2 separate regions of the Homo sapiens genome follow, and region 2 is linked to region 1. The links are contacts of gene promoters, found by promoter capture Hi-C in blood cells and fetal thymus (Javierre and others, 2016). All regions are on one chromosome and are shown on one strand. The core of a region is centred on a gene start or on the middle of the fragment in contact, and the rest is flanking DNA. Distances in the headings are between cores, read along the strand shown. Region 1 holds the start of MIGA1 (mitoguardin 1). Region 2 holds the start of CTH (cystathionine gamma-lyase).

Region 1 (4,559 bases), core at 1,527-4,026:
ACCTAGAGTGGATGCATTCCTCTTCTTCCTTTTGGGAACGCCCTACTCTGTCTATAGAGTAAGTGGACATTCACCACTTCACTGTCTTAAACTTGCTTTTGCTTTGGACTGTGGACTTGCCCTGAATTCTTTCTTGTGCGAAATCCAAGCACCCTCTCTTGGGATCTGGATTGGTACCCCTTTCTGGTAACAACATTATGAAGCCTCCACAGAAATCCCTGAAGTACGGGGTTCTAAGAGCTTCTGAGTTGGTGAACACATCCATATCCCAAAAAGGTCATACACCCTGATTCCATGGGGACAGAAGTTCCTGCACTTAGGATCCTTCCAGATCTTGTTTTATGTACCTCTTCATCCGGCTGTTCATCTGTATCCTTTGTAATATCTTCTGTTATAAATCAATAGACTGGTTTGGGATGGGAGGAGAAGATTGTGGGAATTCCTGATTTATAGCTGGTTGGTCAGAAGTACAAGTGACAACCTGGGATTTGCAATTGGTATCTGAAGTGGGGGCAGTCTTGTAGGACTGAGCCCTTAAGGGTTTGGTGCATAGTATTGAATTAAATTTAACTGTACAACACCCAGTTGGTAGACACTAAATTAAAGAGTGGAGTTTATAATAAGAAATAATTGGAGACTTGTTTGGTGGGGAAAAACCTCCACACATTTGGAGTCAGAAGTGTTGAAACTACAGAAAAATAGCTTTGTGTTTCTTTTCCTTTAACAATGCATCTAGTAAGTGGCCAAGAAAGGATTCAAACCCAGGCAGTCTGACTTCACAGTTTTGTTTTGATATTATGCAGATAGGATCCCCTAAATTCATTAATGGTTGCTGTAGCATGTATTGCAGTACTTGTACAGAAGAAACAACTGGTAGTACTCCATGAACTCCATTCTCTGGTTTAGTGAGCATTACACGATGGCTTGGTTATCTGGGGGAGGTACTGGCCTTCAGAATTAATCCAGGCTCCAATTTTTTTTTCCTTGTCTCCAATATCAGAAGACATTGAGTCCCCTGTCCTTCTGGTTTAAACCACTACTTGTTTGGTTTTCTTTTACTTGTAGCGAATATGTTAACTAATATATCCAATAATGGCTAAGATTGAGTGCAGTACTCTGCCAAACCAGAAGAAGGGAGGCTTACAGCAAATTACATTTGGTTTATAAACATAAATTAAATGTGATATTTCTATTTTATATATTTTATTATTATTTTGTAGAAATGAGGGTCTTGCTATTGCCCAGGCTAATCTCGAACTTCTTACCTCAAGGGATCCTCCCTCATCGGCCCCACAAAGTGTTGGGATTACAGATGTGAGCCACCTCACTTGGCCTAAATGTGACATATCTTATTCTCATGCTAAAGAATAAACTCTGTACCCACCGTGTAATACTATTTTTCTCATAATGTTTATTGTGGAATTAAGGAGATAATATGGTCTCAGGAAAGTTGTGTTGAGTGGTAGTCATCATCATTACTGCTATTCTCATTACGTTGAATGTTTGGAAGCTGTGGGAAATGGGAAAGAGGAGGAAATTGGGAAAATAAATGAAAATAGCCTTACAAATTTCAGGTTCTTCAAGTCTCAAGAGCTCCATTTACCCTATAAGTGCAAAATATTTTCACATAAAACCCAGTCTGTGGATCGTTAGTTATTATTAATCTAATAATATCATAAATTGGTACTACTATTCTATTTTCCATTTGGTTAAATGGGAATTTTGAAAACAGAATTATTTTGGCTTTTCACCACAAATATGCTCAGCAACTGGAATTCTTAAATCTGCAGTTTTTTTGTTTTGTTTTGTTTTGTTTTGTTTTTTGTTTTGAGACAGAGTCTCACTCTAGTCACCCAGGTTGGGGTGCAGTAGCACTATCTGGGCTCACACAACCTCCGCCTCCCGGGTTCAAGCGATTTTCCTGCCTCAGCCTCCCGAGTAGCTGGGATTACAGGCAGGTGCCTGGCTAATTTTTGTACTTTTAGTAGAGATGGGGTTTCGCCATGTTGGCCAGGCTGGTCTTGAACTCCTGACCTCAAGTGATCTGCCCGCCTTGGCCCGCCAAAGTGCTGGGATTACAGGCTTCAGCCACCGTGCCCCGCCTAAATCTGCAGTTCTGATGGAATGTTTTGACTGAAGACTGAACGTAGAAACAGTACCTTGGGTTTTGTTGTTGTTATTTTTTCCTAACCCGGCCCCCTATTAGTTTACTATGTATTAGAACCTGAGAGAGGTGACTACTCTGCCAATAAATTGCCACATTCAATATTCTTCGGTTGCCTAATTCAGTGGGAAACACAGAAAAAAAGGTAAAGAGGACATGAAATCAATAATAAATGCATCATCTATACCGGATTGGAATGCCTCTTAACACTCATTCATCTGAGGGCTGAGGGCCTGTGGTAGAAGTTCTTAATCTTGTTTTCAGGGTTTTGAAATTGTGTAACTTTTTTTTCTTTAATGTAATGAGCATGTGTATACACATTTTTTTTTTTCCAGGGGAAACCCTCCATAATTTTTACCAGATTGACAACCGTTCTAGATCCCCCGACAGGTTACGAACTACAATACTAGTTTTTTTTTTTTTTTTTTACCGGTTTGTAAAAGGATGCAATTCTTCGAATATAGTTTTTGCATCCACTTGACGAGGAAGGAGCCTCTACCCTAAACAAAAATGGCGGGAGCTGCTTCACACGTAGTCCCTCACGCAGAAAGCCTGGAAGGCCCCCTCCACTTTCTCTCCACCTTCGCACTCCTGACCCCGGAAGGACTCCGCCTTCTCCATGTCAGACTGCTGCTCAGCGCCAGGCATCAGCTGGGAAGCTGGCGTGGGCAGGCCAGCTGTACCTGGCCTGGAGCTCCAGGTACAGGGCCAGGGGCGGGGTGGGGTGGAGAGGCGGGCGGGAGGAAGCGGAGAGTTGAGCGGCCACGCAGTTGGGGCAGAGGCCTCGGGGCAGGGGTGGCGCGGACTCCATCGCTGGCGTTAGCTCTCGGAGTGCCAGGTGGAGCGGCGGAAAGCCAGAGGGTCTACGGCCGTGCCACCCTGAACACCCCCGACCTCGTCTCATCTCAGAAGCTAAGCAGGGTCGGGCCTGGTTAGTACTTGCATAGGAAAGCAGGAGGGTCCCCACGCCAGAGGGAGGCCTGCAAAGGAAGCGCGGAATTGGGATGGGCTCGCCACTGCTCTGAGCCAGAGGAAGGGTCTGGACGGCCGAGCTGGAGGGACCCCCTTTTCTGGTGTTCTTGGCAAAGAAAAAGGAAGACAGCAGAGGAGAGCTCCGCGAGGGGCTGCTGTGGGGTCGGGGGAGAGCGCGCTGGAGGTAGGGCAGCTGGTGAGGTCTCAGGTTCGGCTTGGATGCGGGTGGTTTTGAGCAGGGAGTGGCTTTTGGATGTGAAAGATTACTCTGCTTTGCAGGTGCTTTAAGAGAATAATTTAGCACGGGAGTATTGTGGTGTCAGGTCCTTCTGTAAAGTTGTTAAATTATCTATTTTCCAGAGGGAAGACTCAGCTTGTTTTTGCACAGGACTTTGAAACCTTTATTATTGTTGTTTTATTGTTGTTGTTATTGCAGCTAAACATGTTTGCTCTGTTCAAAGTGTCAGAGTTAGGTTATATAGATTTGTGCTTCACGTCAATTTTCTTTTTGATACTTCAGACTTTCCTTCCTGTTGGATTATAAAGTCAAAGTTGCAGGATAGAATTTTAAGATGTCTAAGAAACTGTTTATGACACTTATTTTTAATTCCCCAGTAGTTGGAATGTAGAGGAGCAAGTAATATCACACAGGACAATATTTTTGGTTATGTTTTATAGATTCCGTCTATAAATTTGAATAATCATGAAACCCCCTTCATGTTTATTTTTATTATGCTTCTGAAAGCAAATGAAATGACTAGTTTTTTGTTTTTTTTTCTTTAGTTTTTCAATGAATAATGATTAGGTTTGGAATCAACTTCCTCAGTAATATTAAATGAAAAAGAATGAGGTAGTTAGAATGCAAAAATAGAGGTTTGTCATAATATTTTTTCTTTTTTCTTTTTTTTTTTTTTTTGAGGCGGAGTCTGGCTCTGTCGCCCAGGCTGGAGTGCAATGGCGTGATCTCTGCTCACTGCAACCTCCGCCCCTAGGGTTCTAGAAGTTCTCCTACCTCAGCCTTCCGAGTAGCTGGGATTACAGGCGCCCGACATCACTCCTGGCTAATTTTTTTGTATTTGTAGTAGAGATGGGGTTTCGCTATATTGGCCAGGCTGGTCTTGAACTCTTGACCTCAACTGATCCACCCACCTCGGCCTCCCAAAATGCTGGGATTACAGGCGTGAGCCACCACGCCTGGCCGAGGTTTGTCATAATCTTTTAAGAATATCTCTGCAGCCAATTAAAGTGTTTGCTTTATTTTCTTTCTATTCTGCTTAAAAATTTGGAATGCTCCATTATAGGGAAAATTACTTTGGGTGAATTACTCAATACGTTTTTTAAATGCAGTAGCATAGATTGCTTAATGATCCAGAATCTAATTAGTAAAAATGTTTCTCAAAATAAAATGTGTTAATATTTAGGG
Region 2 (4,559 bases), core at 2,060-4,559, 7.4 Mb before region 1:
TCTTCTTTCCCCTGATCCCCAAATTCCCTTCATAATTCTCATTATTTCATTGACAAAAGCCCAAGGATGAACAAATTGTTTTCTTTTGAGGTAAAACAAAACAGATCTAATAATTGCGTATGTTTATGCTTGATAATAATAATAATATATTTTATGAACATCCCTCCCAAGTCCCGATTGCACTGTTTTGATATTCAGTCACGGTATCTTTATTCATAGCCTGCCTTTAATGAGAATAGTAGAGGTCTTTGTGCATAAACACAAGAAGTACAGTGCTATTTTCATAGTGTTTAAGAAGTACTTATTATAAAATAATGTACTCTGTGTTTTATAAAAGGATCAAACAGTAAAGAAATATAAAAAATGAGAAGTTTCCCATTTCCTCTAAAATATCTGCTTTTGCTGAATCTCCTTCCCAAGAAGAATTAATAATTCTTCTGTAAGTGTTATGATATTTTGTTGTATGCAACATAATTTATATGAAAAATTAGCACACACCTCAAACTATATACCATTTATTGGATTTAAAGTGGCTATCATTTAATCATTTAAAAAGCTTTTTTTCTAAATACAGTTGTCTTTCTAAAATGTTTAAATTAGGGTTTTTGGTAGTATTATTATTGTTGAAAAGGTAATATGTGCCCATGATATAAAACTTGAACACAAAAGAGAATAAAATGTAAAGAAAATCACCTTTCCACTGCAGATCCATAGTCTCTATGACCAGAAGGATTTTTATACATATGAAATCATAAATATCTGTCTGAAAATAATGCAACATAGTATATATTCTTTTGAAAAAGTGGAAGCATGATGTATACGTTACTTTGCTTTGCTGTCTTAGATATTAGAGATCAATAGGCCAGGTGTGGTGGCTCATGCCTGTAATACCAGCACTTTGGGAGGCCAAGGCTGGTGGATCACTTGAGGCAAGGAGTTCGAGGCCAGCCTGGCCAACATGGTGAAACCCATCTCTACTAAAAATACAAAAATTAGCCAGACATGGTGGCTGCATCTGTAGTCCCAGCTACTTGGGAGGCTGAGGCAGAAGAATCTCTTGAAACCTGGAGGCAGAGGTTGCAGTGATTCGAAATGGCACCACTGCACTCCAGCCTGGGTAACAGAGCGAGACTCTGACATACCAGCACATCTCAATCTCTTCCTGCTTCTTGGCCATACTGTAGCCATCACAGAGTAGTATCATAACCAGTTAACCAGTCTTTTAAGAATGAATAATTAAGCCATTTTTCACTCTTTTGCTATTAAAAATAGTAACGTAGGTTTAAAAAGCATCCTTGCTCATCTCTGTACACATATTAAGAATATATCTAAAGGATAAATTCCTGCAAGTAAAATTTTCTACAAAAGAAATTGCTGAGTCATAGAAAGGGGATATTTTAAATCCTTGATACATATTAAGCTGCATCCAATAAAGTTTTCTCAGTTTAAGAGAGTAAAAAAGGCCTGATTTATAGCATTTGTATTGGGTGCTATCTTTTTTTTTTTTTTTTTTGAGATGGAGTCTCACTCTGTGGCCCAGGCTGTAGTGCAGTGACATGATCTCGGCTCACTGCAACCTCCGCCTCCTGGGTTCAAGCGATTCTCCTGTCTCAGGCTCCCAAGGAGCTGGGATTACAGGTGTGCACCACTACGCCCAGCTAAGTTTTGTGTTTTTTGTAGAGATGGGGTTTCACCCTGCTGGCCAGGCTGGTCTCGAACTCTTGACTTCAGGTGATTCGCCCACCTCGGCCTCCCAAAGTGCTGGGATTAATAGGCGTTAGCCAATGCACCCAGCCTAGTGCTGTCTTCTGAATGATTCTTTATTACAGTACACTAAATAAAATGTCTGTATTTATGCAACTCAGGGTTTGTCAGCAAATATTAGGAGGTAAAACTAATTGGAACTGTTTTAGACCCTTTTGGCCCCTAAATGCCATATCATATTACACAAAAATACCCACCTATAGTTATACATAAATATTGAGGTGAGTTGCAGTTGATGTTATATTTTTAAAAGAAAAATATTAATTAAATATGTATTAATATACATTAGTGTTTTGAAGTCTATCCATTTTTTCCCCCAGCCATACAAAGTTTGGTAGGATTCTAAAAGCTTGTAGGCCCTCAAGCACCACTCCTCTAGTGCTTAATGGGTTAAATGTCCCTAAAGCTAATTTGAAAAGCAAATTGCCTCATTCTTTCTCTTCATATCTTTCTTTCAAACTGTAAATTTTAAGAGCTGTTTATTCCTTATTCTCCTTGTTCTTAATTTGTTTAATAAAGTTTTAGATCTTTAGCGAATATTTTGCAACAACAGAAATATCCCCAAATTTCCTGGTGCTAGAAAACAGCCACAATAGTAAGTAGGTCAAGTCTGTATTGCTTAGGGAACAGGGAGATTTTTGTTTTAAAGCAGTGATTCTTCTGAGAGTAGGGCTCTGGGCGCAGGTGAGTGGTAAACAATCCTTTTTCCTGCAGGGATGTTGCTGTTGTGTAAAAGCAAAAGCATTTTGTGTAAGGATGTTAGGCTCCAGTAAGTATTTCAAAGCCACATTATCTTTCTCATTAGGGGGAGTTTCTCTCTGTACTTTAAAAGAAGATAATGATGCTTGAAAAAGCTCAAGATTGACTAACTTTTAGGAAGCTGCCAGAGTTGTGCATAGACGTCCTCACTACAGTAGCTTCGTTATGTCTTACGAACAATTTAACCTTCACTTCTAGTCATCGTTTCGTCATCGTAAGCACTGGGTCATTACAGAGTTCAGTGTACCTAAAACGCAAGCTGTGACTGATGAGAATCCAAGCTGCAAACTGGGCGGCTTGGGCAACTGTTTTCTTAACCACCCTCCACGTTGTGGCTTACGTCTTTTAGCACCGCCCTCAGGGCAAAGGATGGTGGTCAGAGGTAACTACCACAGTAAAAGAAGGCTATTTATGTGGTCTGTTTACAGTTACCCGGTTTCAACACTAAGCCAGCTTTCCGCCACGTCTCGGGCGAACCTCCGGCCTGAGGTCACAGAGACGCCCGGGTGGCTCTCAGGAGCCAGCATGGCAGCCTCCTCAGGACGGGTACTCAGGAATTTCGCCCGCAGGGACTAACACCACTTGGACCCAGGGACTCCAGCTTCACTCCGCTTTGTGCACTGGGTGGGGCGGTCGCGGTGACGTTTCAGGCAACGCCTCTGCTGTCAGCCAATAAGGAGCGGGAGACGCGTCGGGCCTGCGCTCAATGGGCCGCGCTGGTCCCGCCCCACTGTGATCGTGAGACTGCAGACCCGCTAATAAAATCCACCCCAACAATCGCTGTGTGCCGCTTTAGTGCGCTCGCCGTCGGCTCTACCTGCGTGCTTTAGCTCCTTCTCGCCTGATCCTTCTGTCTCTCCCAACCCCGGACACCCGGCTTCGACTGGTTATATCTTCGGTGTTCTTTTCCTCTCTTCTTCTTTCGCGGTTCAGCATGCAGGAAAAAGACGCCTCCTCACAAGGTTTCCTGCCACACTTCCAACATTTCGCCACGCAGGCGATCCATGTGGGCCAGGATCCAGAGCAATGGACCTCCAGGGCTGTAGTGCCCCCCATCTCACTGTCCACCACGTTCAAGCAAGGGGCGCCTGGCCAGCACTCGGTGAGCTGGGTCTGTCTGGGGCTGTCCACAGTTGGGCGGTAAAAGAGATACGGCTTATGAATTTGAAAGGCATGTAAGTAATTTATAATATGACTTATAAATTAGGAAGGCAACCGAAAGATGTTTCTACACTGTAATTCTTGCAGCACAGCTTTGTATCGGATGGTCCAGTGATCGTATTTCTTTTGATAAGCAGGACTGGAAGGAGCCGTTTGTCCAGCTTGCCATTTAGATTTGGCCTGAAATTCAGGTGATTTTGACAAATTTGCAATTAAAAATCGAAGGTCATAACTTTTTTGAGTTACCTTTAGCAGCATAAATTTTAAAGATGTAGTACGGAGTCAGCTTAAAAAATATTAAGGGTCTGATAACTTGACTAGAATTAAGATTGTTTCCAGTAGCTGTATGAATAGTTATTGAGTACCTACTATATGCCAAATACGTGCTCGTATATATCATGTGTATTACATGTATTGTCTCATCTAATCCTAACAACAACCCTAGTCTGAACCGAATTCTCATTTTTTCCCAATAAAGAAGCTGAGATTTAGGGAGTTAAGTAACTAGCCTTAGACTAGTAAGTATTGGAGATGGAATTCAAACTTTAGAAACTTGAGGTTGCTTTAGGAACCAACTCCTAGGCACTCAGCTACACTATGCTATCTCTAATAATGCTAGTAACAATTTAGCCTATTGCGTCATTTAAGCACTGTGGCTTAGTGATTAAGAACACAACTCATGACCGGGTGCAGTGGCTTACGCCTGTAATCCCAGCACTTTGGGAGGCTGAGGCGGGTGGATCACCTGAGGACAGGAGTTCGAGCCCAGCCTGGCCAACATGGTGAAACCCCATCTCTACTAAAAATAAATAAATTAGCTGGGCATGGTGGCGGGTAATCTCAGCTACTCGGGAAGCTGAGGCAGGAGAATCGCT

Evidence for each region. The method cuts DNA at HindIII sites, captures the fragments that hold promoters and counts their contacts. A CHiCAGO score of 5 or more calls a contact.
Region 2: the fragment with the promoter of CTH here is called in contact with the fragment with the promoter of MIGA1 in region 1 in 1 of 17 cell types (total B cells); the score reaches 8.3 in total B cells.

Annotation. Positions count from the first base shown.
Region 1 is chr1:77,776,873-77,781,431 of GRCh38, forward strand. MIGA1 (mitoguardin 1) reads left to right here and starts at 2,777. Exons shown (of 16, transcript NM_001416120.1): 1 at 2,777-2,864. It also overlaps the pseudogene RNA5SP21. RefSeq lists an enhancer at 2,664-2,753. The HindIII fragment of the contact is 6,952 bases long and covers 1-4,559 here.
Region 2 is chr1:70,407,959-70,412,517 of GRCh38, forward strand. It overlaps CTH (cystathionine gamma-lyase), which reads left to right and starts at 3,310. Exons shown (of 12, transcript NM_001902.6): 1 at 3,310-3,625. The coding sequence starts at 3,458. RefSeq lists an enhancer at 2,881-3,140 and a silencer at 3,201-3,350. The HindIII fragment of the contact is 3,560 bases long and covers 2,112-4,559 here.